Regions from separate parts of the Homo sapiens genome. Here region 1 is linked to region 2. The links are contacts of gene promoters, found by promoter capture Hi-C in blood cells and fetal thymus (Javierre and others, 2016). All regions are on one chromosome and are shown on one strand. Each heading gives the region's core, a stretch centred on a gene start or on the middle of the fragment in contact. The rest is flanking DNA. Distances are from core to core; before and after follow the strand shown.

The links. The method cuts DNA at HindIII sites, captures the fragments that hold promoters and counts their contacts. A CHiCAGO score of 5 or more calls a contact.
Region 1: a contact is called between a fragment that was not itself captured here and the fragment with the promoter of OR8K3 in region 2, in 1 of 17 cell types (neutrophils). The highest score is 5.2, in neutrophils.

Annotation. Positions count from the first base shown.
Region 1 is chr11:56,280,682-56,287,614 of GRCh38, forward strand. No RefSeq gene overlaps it. Among named protein-coding and RNA genes, the nearest start is that of OR8H1, 8.1 kb to the right of the region's middle. RefSeq lists an enhancer at 2,117-2,618. The HindIII fragment of the contact is 4,653 bases long and covers 1-3,859 here.
Region 2 is chr11:56,311,531-56,318,968 of GRCh38, forward strand. It overlaps OR8K3 (olfactory receptor family 8 subfamily K member 3 (gene/pseudogene)), which reads left to right and starts at 3,614. Exons shown (of 3, transcript NM_001005202.2): 1 at 3,614-3,637; 2 at 4,470-4,527; 3 at 6,754-7,438. The coding sequence starts at 6,777. The HindIII fragment of the contact is 10,208 bases long and covers 2,042-7,438 here.

The DNA.
Region 1 (6,933 bases), core at 283-2,782, 33 kb before region 2:
TGGCTAAACAGAGAAGTATCTGTGTAGCTGCTGGCACTTGTGGCCTATGGAGAAATATATCACATCAGGTCTTATAGAGGGGATTAACAAAGAGACTGCTTAGTAAAGTGAGTAGACTTTTTAGCTCATTCTTTTATCTTTTTGATTTTAGGTGGTTTGGTTTAGGGGGAACCTGGGTAAGGAGCATACTCCAAACTCTTGGTATTATCCTCCTGATAATAGTAGTTTCCCTGGTGCACTGTATTATCTTAAAAATTTTAAATGTTTGCATGGAGCCATCCTTAGAATGTCAAATGGTGTCTCTTCAACTGGAATGACAAGACCTGAAAGAAATGTGTGACCATATGGGCACCGTAACTTATGAGAGACATGATGAGACTGGAAACCCAAAATGGTGGTAACTGAGAGTGGTGCTTAGGCCCTAAGTGTTTGTCGCAATCTCACCTGAGAACATGAACAAAAGTGGAAAATTTTTAAACAAAATTATGAGCGGTCATTGTTTTGGACTGAGCTTATGCACTAGGCCCCAACAGACCAGACTAAACCAAAATGGAGTCATTCATGCTAAATGTGACATAATTAAGCTAAGACTTTAAGGATACGCTTAGATCCTAGAACACACCAGGTTTTGTTTTCTCTCCTGTAAAAAGGATGTTCCAGCATAAGGAGGTACCCTCTATTCTAACCCTTTCAAAAAAATGAATAAATAACCTGAAGTCCCTGTTCCCATCTTACAAAACCTACTGTTTTGCTATTTCCCAGTGGCTTTCAAGCCCAAATAAGTACATTTATACTGGTGAAACTGACATCAATTACTAAACTTTTTGTCCACCTTTAAAAATTGAGATGACCAAAGAGAGAAATTATTAAATCGAGTTTAACCTGAAGCTGCCTCATTACGTATTTTAACTTTGGCCAAAAGGTTTCTTTGTACATCACAAACTAGAACAAGTGGAGGTGTAAACAGACTGAAGCCTACATCTGTGCCAATCACCAAGTTTTGGCCAATCAAATGGAGCCAACTGTTTGAACCATGTTCAAACATGGCAAACACCAACCTATAACCAATTCAGCTATTTCTATACCTCACTTTTGTTTTCTGTATGTCATTTTCTTTTTCTATCCATAAATCTTCCACCATGTGGCTGCACTGGAATCTCAGAGCCTACTCTGGCTTCAGTGACTGCCCAATTTGCTAATCATTCTTTGCTTAACAAAATTCCTTTAAATTTAATTTGGCTGAAGTTTTTCTTTTATCATGTGTCCTCCTCAATTTCTTTCATTTATGTTTTATAGTTTGCATGGTACAGCTCTTTCACTTCTTTGGTTAAGTTAATTCCTAAGTATTTAACTTTATTTGTAAATATTGCAGACTTTTTATTTTTACTTTTGAATTGATTGCTACTGACATTGTAATCCAAAAATAAAATTCAAATCCCCTTCCTCATCCCACAACCATCTGAATGGACTCCCTCCTAGGCCAGGGCACTCTAAAATTAACCTCAAAGACTGGATCAGGCCATGACTGTAAGTGAGGGTCCTATGTGCCTCACTATACTCCTCCAGTATTAACATCAACACAGACTGTAGGTCTGATAAGTAACATTTACAATCTGTTCTAAACCTGCTACCTGGAGGCTTCATCTGCATGATAAAACCTTGGTCTCCACAACTCCTTATCTTAACCCAGAAATTCCTTTCTATTGATAATAACTGTTTTAGACAATTACCAATCAGAATATCTTTAAATCTATCTATGACCTTCCCCTTCTTCAAGTTGTTCCACTTTTCCACATTGAACCAATGTAAAAATATGATTGATGCATTGTATCCATAAAATGTGTAAAACCAAGTTTTACCCTGACCACGTTGGGCATATGTCATCAGTACCTCCTGAGTCTGTGTCACAGGGGTGTCCTGAACCTTGGCAAAATAAACTTTCTAAATTGACTGAGACCTGTCATCAATATTTTCAGTTTGCAGTGTATAGAAATGGTCAAAAGAAAGAGTCAAACTCTGTAAAATATTTGAAGAGATTTATTCAGGGCCAAATATGGGTGGCCATTGCCCATTACACAGCCCCCATGAGGTCCTGACAACATGTGCCCAAGGTGGTCAAGGCAGAGTTTGGTTTTTATACAGTTTAGGGAGGCATGAAACATCAATCAAATACTTTTAAGAAATACATTGGTTTGGTCCAAAATGGTGGGACAAGTCAAACAGTGGGAGGCAGCAGGTTTCAGGCTATAGGTAAATTTAAACATTTTCTGGTTGATAATTGGTTGAGTTTGTCTAAAGATCTGGAATCCATAGAAAGGAAATGTTCAGATTAAGATAAAAGATTGTGGAGACCAAGGTTCTTTTGAAGTCTTATAGTGTCTGCCCTTAGAGACAATAGATGACAAATGTTTCCTATTTAGATCTTTAAAAGGTGCTAGACTTTTAATTTATCTCATTAGGATTGGGAGGGCCTGGAAGAAAAAACATATATCTATGTTAATAGAGATTCTTTACAGATGGAAATATTCCTTTAAGGACAGCTTTACAGGGCCTTTCAAGATATGGCAAAGACATATGTTTTGGGGTAAAATATTTTGATTTTCTTCCTTGTTTCATAATGTTATGCCAGAGTCAGTTTGGAAAGTAAGTTATGATACATAGGGTTAAATAAAACCCATCTGCTGAAAAATCTATGGTTTCTAGGACATGACTACCCAGATCATTTAGATAAGAATGTGGGCAAGATAAAACAATTAGAGCTTAGTCCTCAAAATGCTACTAATTTTTTATGTTGATTTTTTATCCTGCAACTTTATTGAATTTGTTATCAGCTTTTTAATTAGTTTTCTGGTGGAGTCTCTAGGTTTTTTCAAATATAAGGTCATATCGTCTGCAAATAAGAATAATTTGACTCCTTTCTTTTCAATTTAAATCCTCTTTATTTCTTTCTATTGTCTGATTTCTCCAGTTAGGACTTCCGGTACTATTTCAAATAATAATGTTGAACATGGGCATTCTTGTCGTGTTCTAGATCTTAGAGGAAAAACATTCAGTTTTTTTTGCCATTCAGTATGTTACTAGTTGTGGGTCTGACATACATGGCTTTTATTATATAGAGTTATGTTCCTCTTATACTCAGTTTTTGGAGGGTTTTTGTCATGAAGGGATGTTGAATTTTATCAAATCCTTTTTCAGTATCAATTGAAATGTTCATGTTTTTGGTCCTTCATTCTGTCAATATCATGTATCACTTTGATTGATTTGTGTATATCAAAAAATACTTGCATGCCTGGGATAATTCCCACTTCAACATAATCAATGATATTTTTAAACCGTTGTTGAAATTGGTCTGCTAGTAGTTTGTTGAGAATTTTTGTATTGATGTTCATCAGGGATTTGACCTATAGCTTCTTTTTTGTTTGTTTGTTTGTTTGTTTCAATGGGTCTGTCTGGTTTTGGTATACTGGACTTGTAGAATGAGTTTGGAAGTACCCATCCTCTAGTTTTTGGAATAGTTAAGTAGGATTGGTATTAGTTCTTCTTTAAACATTTTGGTAAATGTAAAATTTATGACAAATATAGCAAAAGGAATGGGAGAGATCTGACTTTACTCTAAAGGTCTTATGTGAAAAGTTGAGATATAGATTATTTTAGGTAAACTATAATACATAAAACATGTTTTTATAATCCAGGGTCAACACTAAGAAGACAGAAGAGAAATATAACCAATATCAGGAATGAAATAAGGTATTTTACTCTGGTCCCTACAAATATGACAAGGAAAATAAGAACATTATAAACAACATTTTGCTAATAAAATTGACAATTAAATGAAAAATACAAATGAAAAATGTAAAGAAGCTTACATCAGAAGAAAGGGGTAACCAGGGTAGTCCTATGTCTACTTAAAAAATTGAATATGTTCTAAAAACCATCCATATGAACACAACGTTTGGAATTGTCTTCCTTACTGTCAAAAAATCTCACCTTTCTCTCAGACTAGAATGTGGGCAAAGTACTAGATTAACTCTCTTCAACAACATAGAAGAAGACATCAGGGAGATAATAGAGCAATAACATAGAAGAACCTGTGTCCTAAGATTGCCTTGTGAAAAACAGCTCCCCACAAAGTCTAGTCAGGTCAAGAGTAATAAGAATAAAACAAAGAACACTCTGCAGGTTATATTTAAGGATACTTTGTTGTTGTTGGGTCACTCTGTTTCTGAATCCTTTTTTTTTTCTTTAACATCAGAAAAGCCTGTATCCTGATTAAATACAAATTCTCTCCCCAGCACCATCCCATCATCTGATAAACTGTTCTTTCCTTTATTGAGTGCTTTTTCTGTAAATAGGACTGTACCTATACATCTGAGATTTAGCTAGTACTGCCAAAATCATACTCTCCTCTATCAACAGCCCTAGAGAATGTTTATCAGCAGCATATCCCCTTTAATAACCTCTATTATTTTGTTAATGCCTTTAATAGGGTGTAAGGGATTTTTTTTTGTTAAGAAAAGAATCCTAAATGCCCATCAATCAATGAGTGGAGAAAATATTGCTCTATGTGTATATATTCCATATATATGGATATATGATGGAATACTACTCAGCCATAAAAAGGAATGAATTAATGGCTTTAACAGCAATCTGGATGGAACTGGAGACTATTATTCTAAGTGAAGTAACTCAGGAATGGAAAACCAAACATTGTATGTTCTCACTTATAAGTGGGAGCTAAGCTATGCAGATGCAAAGGCATAAGAATTACACAATGGACTTTGGGGACTTGAGGGAGAGGGTAAGAGGGGGGTAAGGGATAAAAGACTACAACTGGGTTCAGTGTATACTGTTCTGGAGATGGGTGCACCAAAATCTCACAAATCACCACTAAAAAGCTTGCTCATGTAACCAAATACCACCTGTTCCCCAAAAAATGTATGGAAATAAAAATTTTTTAAAAAATCATGCAGTTATCTGTGGGAAGGAAGCTTCAGGAAGAAGAGAAAATGGAAAACTTCAGGCAGTGTTAGTAATACTATTTACAGCGAAGAGCTGGGAGATAATGGAATAGAGACAAAGTAAGTGTGACAGGTGGAATAATAAGAAATAAGTTCATAGACTTAAGAATTGAGGACATCATTTTCAACCAATGAACACTTATAAAGTTCTTGGTTTTTATTTTTAGTGTGAGGAAATACTGTATAGGGTTTGTGAAGAGAAATGATATAATCCAACCTACTATTTAACAGTATAACTCTGGCTCCTATATAGAGATTCAACTCAAGAGGAATAAGAATAAAATTACATGCATGCTACCACACTACAGCAATAATTCTGACACTAAAAAGACAGTTATCTGGGCCAGGATGGTAGCAAAAAATGTGTTCAGACACCAAATGTATTCCATATTTAGAAGAACTTTAATATATTAATTGAATGGAAGTAAAGTGTGTTTAATAAAAATAAAATTCCAAGATAATTCTTTTTTTTTCGGTGGGGAGAGAGCATGTTTTCTTAGTATTGCATTAAATGTCTATGAGCTGATGATACAAAAGAAAAGCAAACACAAGGACATGGGTATAGATTCTTACTAATTGATGAAAACCATTCAAACTGCAAACACAGTTTGCAGATATTAATTGCAAAAGTCTGAGACAAACACTTTCCGAGATGTGAGTGTATCAATAGGATTCTGATGTTACCAGGACTACTTTGATATTCCTTTGCATTTGTTTTCTGCATTAGCCTGAAATTCCCCCATTGAAGTTGCTGGAACCACTGACTATCCCGTCCTCTCTAGAACTTCAGTTTAAATAATCAGAAGTACATTTGCTTCCCAGGCTGCACTTCTGCTTATTGTTCAACTTTCAAAGGGCAAAGTGTCCTTTTCTGAATATTTGATCGAATGCCCAGAATTTAAAATGATTTCTCCACCTCTCTGACTTGTGGCTGAGAAAGCTGTCACTCGCAGACAGTTCTCCCTAAGATGTGTGTCTATATCTGAAACAGTTACAGAAAGCCTCTCCTGGCCACATAGAGTTGAAAGAAATAGTTAGGCTTGTAAGAAAAGTTATTGAAAGGTGACAAGAATTACATAATAATATGAGCTGAGTGTACAAATGAGTCCTCAGGAGAGGAGGGCAGTGTCCTCACTTCAAGCCAAGTAAAGGCCCCAGGCCCACCCATTGCTGGCTTGAATGCTCTGTTTCAGCTTAAGCTAAAGCCTATATTTACCCAGTTCTGGAGCTCCTCTGTGTTTTATTTACTTTTTAAAAATTCTTAATTTGACTTTTTTTGTGGGTACATAATAGATACATATTTAGAGTATATGAGATAATTTGATGCAGGAAGACAATGCATAATAATCACATTACTTCAACATAATTCTTAAATCTTTGCTTGACCAAGTAAAGGGTGGTTTTCCATTAATGTGTGATTAAAATTTAGATATTGCTAGTACTGACCTGGCAGTTAAATTATAATGATAAAGTATGTTAATTATATATCTAAAGCCCATTGAATATTGTCTGAACAGTGCTCAGAAAAAAAAATTATTATTATTTTCATCTAGCCATCATTATTTGAAAGAAAAAATAGCTGTTCATATTTTGCTATGCTGAATTACAGGGTTTTTTTGTATTTATGTTATATGGCACTTTGGCATGACACTATGAATCAGAGGACTATGCCTTAAATTAGACAATATCTTACATAAAATATAGTTTACATCACTATAATAGCGAAAGTATAAGTCAAATGTGAACAGTCTAAATCTTTCATATTGCACATAGATTATTGTATACTTTTCTATAATATTATGTGAATACATTTTAGCTTATACAATGAAGAGGATAAGGTAGTCCTAATTAAAATAGAATTTAAGCAATTTCTCAGCATAAGTGTTGTCTACAAAGTGATAGATTCTGTTGGCCA
Region 2 (7,438 bases), core at 2,364-4,863:
ACTGCACGATTTCTGACTCACTCAGCCATAAAGTTGGACATACACAGTCCATTTTCCCTTCTTCATAATTTTACAAATAGATTTGTTCTCACTGCAGCTCTTAGCAACCTTAGCATAGGATTTTTTTTTTCTTTCATCTTTACACTGAAAGAAAGGAAGCACTTTATGCCTTCTCTTTGACATATCTGAATTGCCAGCATCATAACTCTTGCAGTATGGGACATCATTAAGTAAAATAACGGTTATGTAACACAGTTACTGCAATACTGTGACAGTCATCTGATAACCAAGATGGCTACTAAGTGGAACAGACAAGGAAAATATACACTGTGGATAACTGGACAAAAAATGATTCACGCCCTAGGTAAGATAGAGTGAAAAAGTGTGAGAATTTATTGTGCTATTTTGAATGATATGTAATTTACAACTTATGAGTTGTTTTCTGGAAATTCTCTTTAACATTTTTGGAACACAGTTGAATGCAGGTAACTGAAACCACAAAAAGCAAAAAATAGGTATCCAAGTGACTGCTGTATATGGTGTTCAAGACTGAACAGGCCCTGAGGCACAAGTAAGTTACATGAAGAAATAGCCTGATGCACATGGTCCCCGCTCCTCCTACACTATCTTCTGTCTCGCAGTCTCCACCCATGGCCTCATAGAGAGTGCCTTATGGTCAGATGACAGAGGAAGAAAAGACTCCAGTCCCATTTAAAGATAGTTCTGCATCATATGCAGACACCACCCTAAAAGTGGGCAACTGTAGCACTACAAGCCTTTTCTGGGACATTCCTGATGGACAGAAGTAAAGGGAAATACTCTCACTGTGCACAACTTTGAGTGGTGCACCTGGTGATGCACTTTGCTTAGAAAGTGATCATGAGAGAACAGACATGCGATAATTATGATTACATATGGATTCAGGGGCTGTGGCAAGTGGTGTGGCTAGATAGTAAAAAACGTGGAGAGGACATGATTGAAAAATTAATGACAAAGAAATTTAGGGAAGAAGTATGACCATAACTCTCTGAATGAGCAAAAAACGTGAAGATATTTGTGTCCCATGTGAATGCTCACCAAATGGTGACCTCAGCAGAGGAGGATTGTAATATTCAAGTTAATAGTATGACACATTCTGTGGATACTAGCCAGCCTCTTTCTTCAGGCACCCTGTCATCACCCAATGGGCTCACAAAGAAAGTGGACATGGTGGCAGGGACATAGGTTATGTGTGGTCTCACAGCAACATGGACTTCCACTCATGAGGGCCAACCTGGCCATAGTCACTGCTGAGTGTCCAATCTTCCAGCAGCAGTGAACAACACAGAGCCACTAATATGGCACCATTACCCAATGGGAGTAGCCAGCTGCCTGGCAGGAGTTTGGTTACATTGCACTGTTTCCAACATTTAAGAGCAGCATTTTGTTCTTAGTGCAATATATACTTACTCTGGATACAGATTTTCCTTCTCTGCAAGCAATTCTGCCAAAACTACCTTCCAAGTTATAGAATGCCTTATGTACCATCATGATATTCCACATGGCATTACATATATCAAGAAACTCACTTCACAGATAAAGAAGTGCAGCAATGTGTCCATGATCATGGAATTCACTAGTCATACTCACCATGCTGCCCAACATCCCAAAGAAACTGGCTTTGAAATTTTAATTACAATTCAGCTAGATGGCAATAATTTGAATAGCTGGGGAAAAGTTTGCAAGAAAGCTATATATGCTTTGAATTAGTCTCCAGTATATTGTGCTGTTTTTTTGCCATAGACTGGATCTAGTAGCCTAGGAATGAAGAGATGGAAGTATGAGTGACACCACTCACTATTTTTTTTAATTTTTTAATTTTTTTATTATCCTTTAAGTTTTAGGGTACATGTGCGCAATGTGCAGGTTAGTTACATATGTATACATGTGCCATGTTGGTGTGTTGCACCCATTAACTCGTCATTTAACATTCAAGACACCACTCACTATTAACCCTAGTGACCCACTGTCAAAATTTCTGCTTCCTGCTCCATTGACTTTAAGCTTTACTGACCTACAGGTCTTAGTCACAGAGGAATGAATGCTTCCACCTAGAGAAATAGCAATAATTCTATTGAATTGGAAGTTAAGACTCTTACCCAGCCATTTTGAGCTCCTCATGCAACTGAATCAATAGACAAAACAGGAAGTTATCACACTTGATCCTGACTTTCCAGGGGAAATTGGGCTATTACTTCACAATACAAGGAAGAATAAGCCTGGAATATGGGACATTCCTTAGGACATCTTTTATTAATAAGAAAAACTGTAATAATAATATACGGAAAACTGTAATAGCCCAAACTAGCCAGAACTACTAATGGCCCACATTCTTCAGGAATAAAGGTTTGGGCCACTTCACAAGGAAAAAAGAACCATGGCCAACTAAGGTGCTTGCTAAAGACAAAAGGAATAGAGTATGGAAAGAAGAAGAAGACGGTTATAAATACCAGCTATAATCATGTGGCCAGTTCAGAAATGAGGACTGTAATTGTAATGAGAATTCCATCCTAATTTTATTATAAATATGTCTGTGTATTTATTAAGATGCTTTATTCCATTTTTTATTACCTTATTATATAAATATGATATATGGACTTTACATCAATATTTAAATATTGTTACTTTTACACTGTAGAATTTTACTCTGAGAAAATCAGGAGAAGAGTCAGTATCACTCAAAGAATATATGTCCTGATTGGAATAAAGGATTAGTGAGTTTTTATTTATATGCCGGATAGTTGTGTCATGTAAAGCAAAACTATGACCTTGTTATTGTCTATGTTTAGAGAGACTAAGTATGGTTTAAGTACATGCTTATGTTTGCCAAGCTGACAAGGGGTGGAGTAATGACGATTAAAGTGTTGACTTAACTAGGCTATATGATGCCCAGATAGCTGGCAAACATTATTTCTGGGTGTGCCTGTGAGGATACTCCTGGAAGAGACTACGATTGTTAGACAGAGTAACTATCATCCTCACCAATATAGGTGGGTATCAGTGCAATCAATTGAGGCCTTGAATAAAACAAAAAGACAGAGGAAGGGTGAGTTCACTCCCTGCTTAAGCTAGGACATCCTTCGCTTCCTGCCATCAGACATTGACATCCCAGATTCCAGAGCCTTCGAATTCAGACTATGATGTACACCCTTGGCTCCCCTGGCTCCCAATATTTCAAGTTTGAACTGAATCTATACCACCAGCTTTCTTGAAGTTTGCAGACAGCAAATCACAGGAATCCTCAGCCTACATAATTGCATAAAACAATTCATAATAAATCTCTATTATCTATCTATCTATCTATCTATCTATCTATCTATCTATCATCTATCTATCTATCTATCATCTCTCATCTAACTATCTCTTCTTAGTACTGTTTTTCTGGAGAACTCTGATACACTAGTGAATACAAACTGTCTTCTACAACTAATGGACAGCCTCAAACATTTTGTTATGCTCTCAAATGCTTTAGGAATTATCAATAAATTGCCTGCCATCTCCTCAGGGAGAGTCTCAAAAGATTAAAAAATGCATAAATTGTTCTCACTGTGCCATGTGAGAGACACATGGAGGAGTCAAGACAGAGGCTTCCTTACAGGTAAAAAAAAAAAAAGTAAGAATGTTTCTTGTGGTGTCATATGTTACAGATATCTATAATGCTTCAGTGACATTGGAAAACTGCCACTTTAATTTGATGACATAACCATAGTAAAGTGTGACAATTTCTGATTCATTTCTCCGGGATTTCTGTTACTCAATAATGCCTAAGCAGAAATAACGGTGCTCCATTTTTCATATGCTTTTTAAGTATTTTACATGGTTTCACAGGCTGAATGCTATAAGCATCTTTGAAACATTATCATGATATTGTTTCTAAAGTATTCATTTTACATATTTTTCTCTAATTGAGGCCAAAACTTGGAGAAAATAAAGCACAATGACAAGGAGATAAATATATTTTTAATGAAAGAATGGAGAAACTGCAACTATTTGGTCAGTCATGTTCATGTCCTTCCAAATACTTGTTATTTAGATGCTCTAGGCTCTCAGACCCCTTAACAATAATTTAACACTGAATGATTATTCAAATAAATGTGTAGATATGATTGTTTTCTCACTGCTTGGTGAGTCAAAAAGGGGGTTGCTACCTTACATTCGAATGTGAAAAGCATTATTAAAAATTATGAGGCTTTTTGGGTAATCATAGGCACAGAAAAAAAAAACATTTTAAAATAGAAGAAAATAAAATTAGGAGACTGTTAAGTACCCAGTTTTAGGGAACAATACAATTTTCAGAAAGTACTTCAATTTCCACTAAGAGTTGACAAAAGCAGATATTATTTTCTCAAAGATTGTAGCTTTAAAAAATGCAATTGATATTCAACAAAGACAGCAAAATATGAAAAAAAGCAATCTGGTTCTTTCCACAGAACTCCAAAGATGGTGAAAGGAACCTCATTTATATTTCCTTACCTAACAAGAAAACAGGTACTTATCCATGATATTATTTGCCTTTCTAAATTGCCAAACTGTACAAAACAAGCAAACAAAATACAGGATTTATGCTGCTCATCATCTTATTTACTAAAGATATTTATCTAACTTTTCCATCTACTGCCACACATTACCATATATCTAATATGAGAAAGGTGTGTTCATTGAGTCAGGGTAGGATAGGAGTAGGTCATAATTTTATTTAAAAAATTAAGTTCAAATAATATGTAATCATCTTTATATTTAATGTAACACAATTGCTTGTCTTTATTTTTTCATAGCTCACTCTGAGATTGCTGTCACTATAATTTTCATTGTAAAAACTATTTTCTTTCTTTTCTTTTTTCAAAAAACATTGGGGCTTACGATTTTTTTTAACTAATAATGATTATCTTAGGTTATCATGCCCTCCATCTCCTGCTCTACTATATTTTAAATCTGTGGGTTATTGGGGGATATTTAGATATATATTTATTCGATTATACATATGTTAATTTGTATTATGTGCTATACCATATTTCCTAGTTTCTGTGGCTTGCATGTTCAGAAAAGTTTTAAATCACAGCCAGAAATCCACGTATATCTCATGTTTAGTGTATTCATTTTGTCTCTATGTTATTGTGTAACAAGGTGACTTTTAATCATTTCTTTAATCTACAGTATCCTTTTACCCAAAAAGTAGCTTTTACTAATTTTCATTATACAAAACCAATATGAAGGACCACATTTTCTCCCAATTTGTTCAGATTTCCTCAAACTCCCCTAAGATTTTGTATGATAAAACAAACTTAACGTTCACATTCAAGTTAGCATTTCTCAATTATATTGAGAATAAAACTATGGGAAGATTAATGTTTTAATAAAGTTTATATAAAAATAATTTATTTAAAATGTTATTAAATTCGTTGTGAAAAATAGATAAGTAATCCAAAACAATAGCATACCAATTACCCAAGTTTAGTCATGAATTGGGGGAGGGGAGAAGAACTGCCCTAAGTTGCAAGTATTACATCCTACTTGACCTGTGACTCCCCTAGGCATCATTATGGTCCTAACAAAGAAGTTAATTCATAGTCAGAATAATGTATGTGTACACATGTAAAAAAAACCTCTTTCAAGTAAGGCATTGTCACAATTAAAACAAATAACAAGAAGAAGAAAACTCACAATGTACTTGATGTTTTAGAACTACTTCTAGGCAGCAAAGACACATTGAATCACTTAATCTTCAGTCATCCTTCCCAACAATTCTGCAATGACATGTTGGTTCTGGATATTAGAACAAACAGTTTTAGATAACTTACACTATTTGCCTAAAATAACCTTTCAAATATGACATAAATTAAGATATAGTGTAGAATATATCTATATCCATATATTTCCTGATATTTTTTGCTTTGTAAATATAAATAATTGCCACTGTCATCTGTTATGCTGCTCTTACTCATATGCCTAATATCTGTCAACTCTATTAAAGTCTCAGCTGTACCACCCGAAGAGATAAGGGTATTCACAGGATGATGTTTTGAAGCAGGTGGTTTTATGCATTTTTGGAATCTGTGACAGAAATTTTTTATATAACTAAAATTGTATTATGTCACAATTTTAATCTATAAATATGACCAAGCTCTAAAAACATAGTACAATAATTGTTCATATATCAGATATCCACGGTATTAACAATGTTTTTAACTTTAAAATTTTTCTTTATATATCTATACAGACATGAATATCTGTATCTCTTTCTCTCTCTCTCATATGATTCTATCTGTTCATCCATAATCTATCTATCTACCCATTAACTATCTATCTATCATCTGTCTATTCATGTATCTCATCAGAGTTTCTCAACCTTAGCACTATTGATATTTGGGGTTGGGTATTGCGATGGGCTGAGTATTGATTATAGTGGAATGTTTAGCAGCTTACTGGCTTCTAACCTTTAGATGCAACAGTGGCCCACCTCCAAATTGTGATAAATAAAATGTCTCTAGACATTAGAAAATGTTTTTGGGTGAGTAAAATCAAAAGCAACTGAAAACTGCTGATCTGCCTTATCTCTTTCTTAAATTATTTAAACATGTTTTTATTTGTGAGAGGTATGTTTTCAAATGTCGCAAATTGTGAAATTTAGGTATATCTTCTGTTAGCTTTGCATACTAAAAAATTTCTCAGGTGATGATAGAGGAAAGCTATTGACAATGCCGATGTCTCTATCAGAATAGGTTTTCTGATGAACCTGGATGGAACAACACAATCTAACAACGGTGAATGAATTCATTCTTACGGGAATCACAGATATCGCTGAGCTGCAGGCACCATTATTTGCATTGTTCCTCATGATCTATGTGATCTCAGTGATGGGCAATTTGGGCATGATTGTCCTCACCAAGTTGGACTCCAGGTTGCAAACCCCTATGTACTTTTTTCTCAGACATCTGGCTTTCATGGATCTTGGTTATTCAACAACTGTGGGACCCAAAATGTTAGTAAATTTTGTTGTGGATAAGAATATAATTTCTTATTATTTTTGTGCAACACAGCTAGCTTTCTTTCTTGTGTTCATTGGTAGTGAACTTTTTATTCTCTCAGCCATGTCCTACGACCTCTATGTGGCCATCTGTAACCCTCTGCTATACACAGTAATCATGTCACGAAGGGTATGTCAGGTGCTGGTAGCAATCCCTTACCTCTATTGCACATTCATTTCTCTTCTAGTCACCATAAAGATTTTTACTTTATCCTTCTGTGGCTACAACGTCATTAGTCATTTCTACTGTGACAGTCTCCCTTTGTTACCTTTGCTTTGTTCAAATACACATGAAATTGAATTGATAATTCTGATCTTTGCAGCTATTGATTTGATTTCATCTCTTCTGATAGTTCTTTTATCTTACCTGCTCAT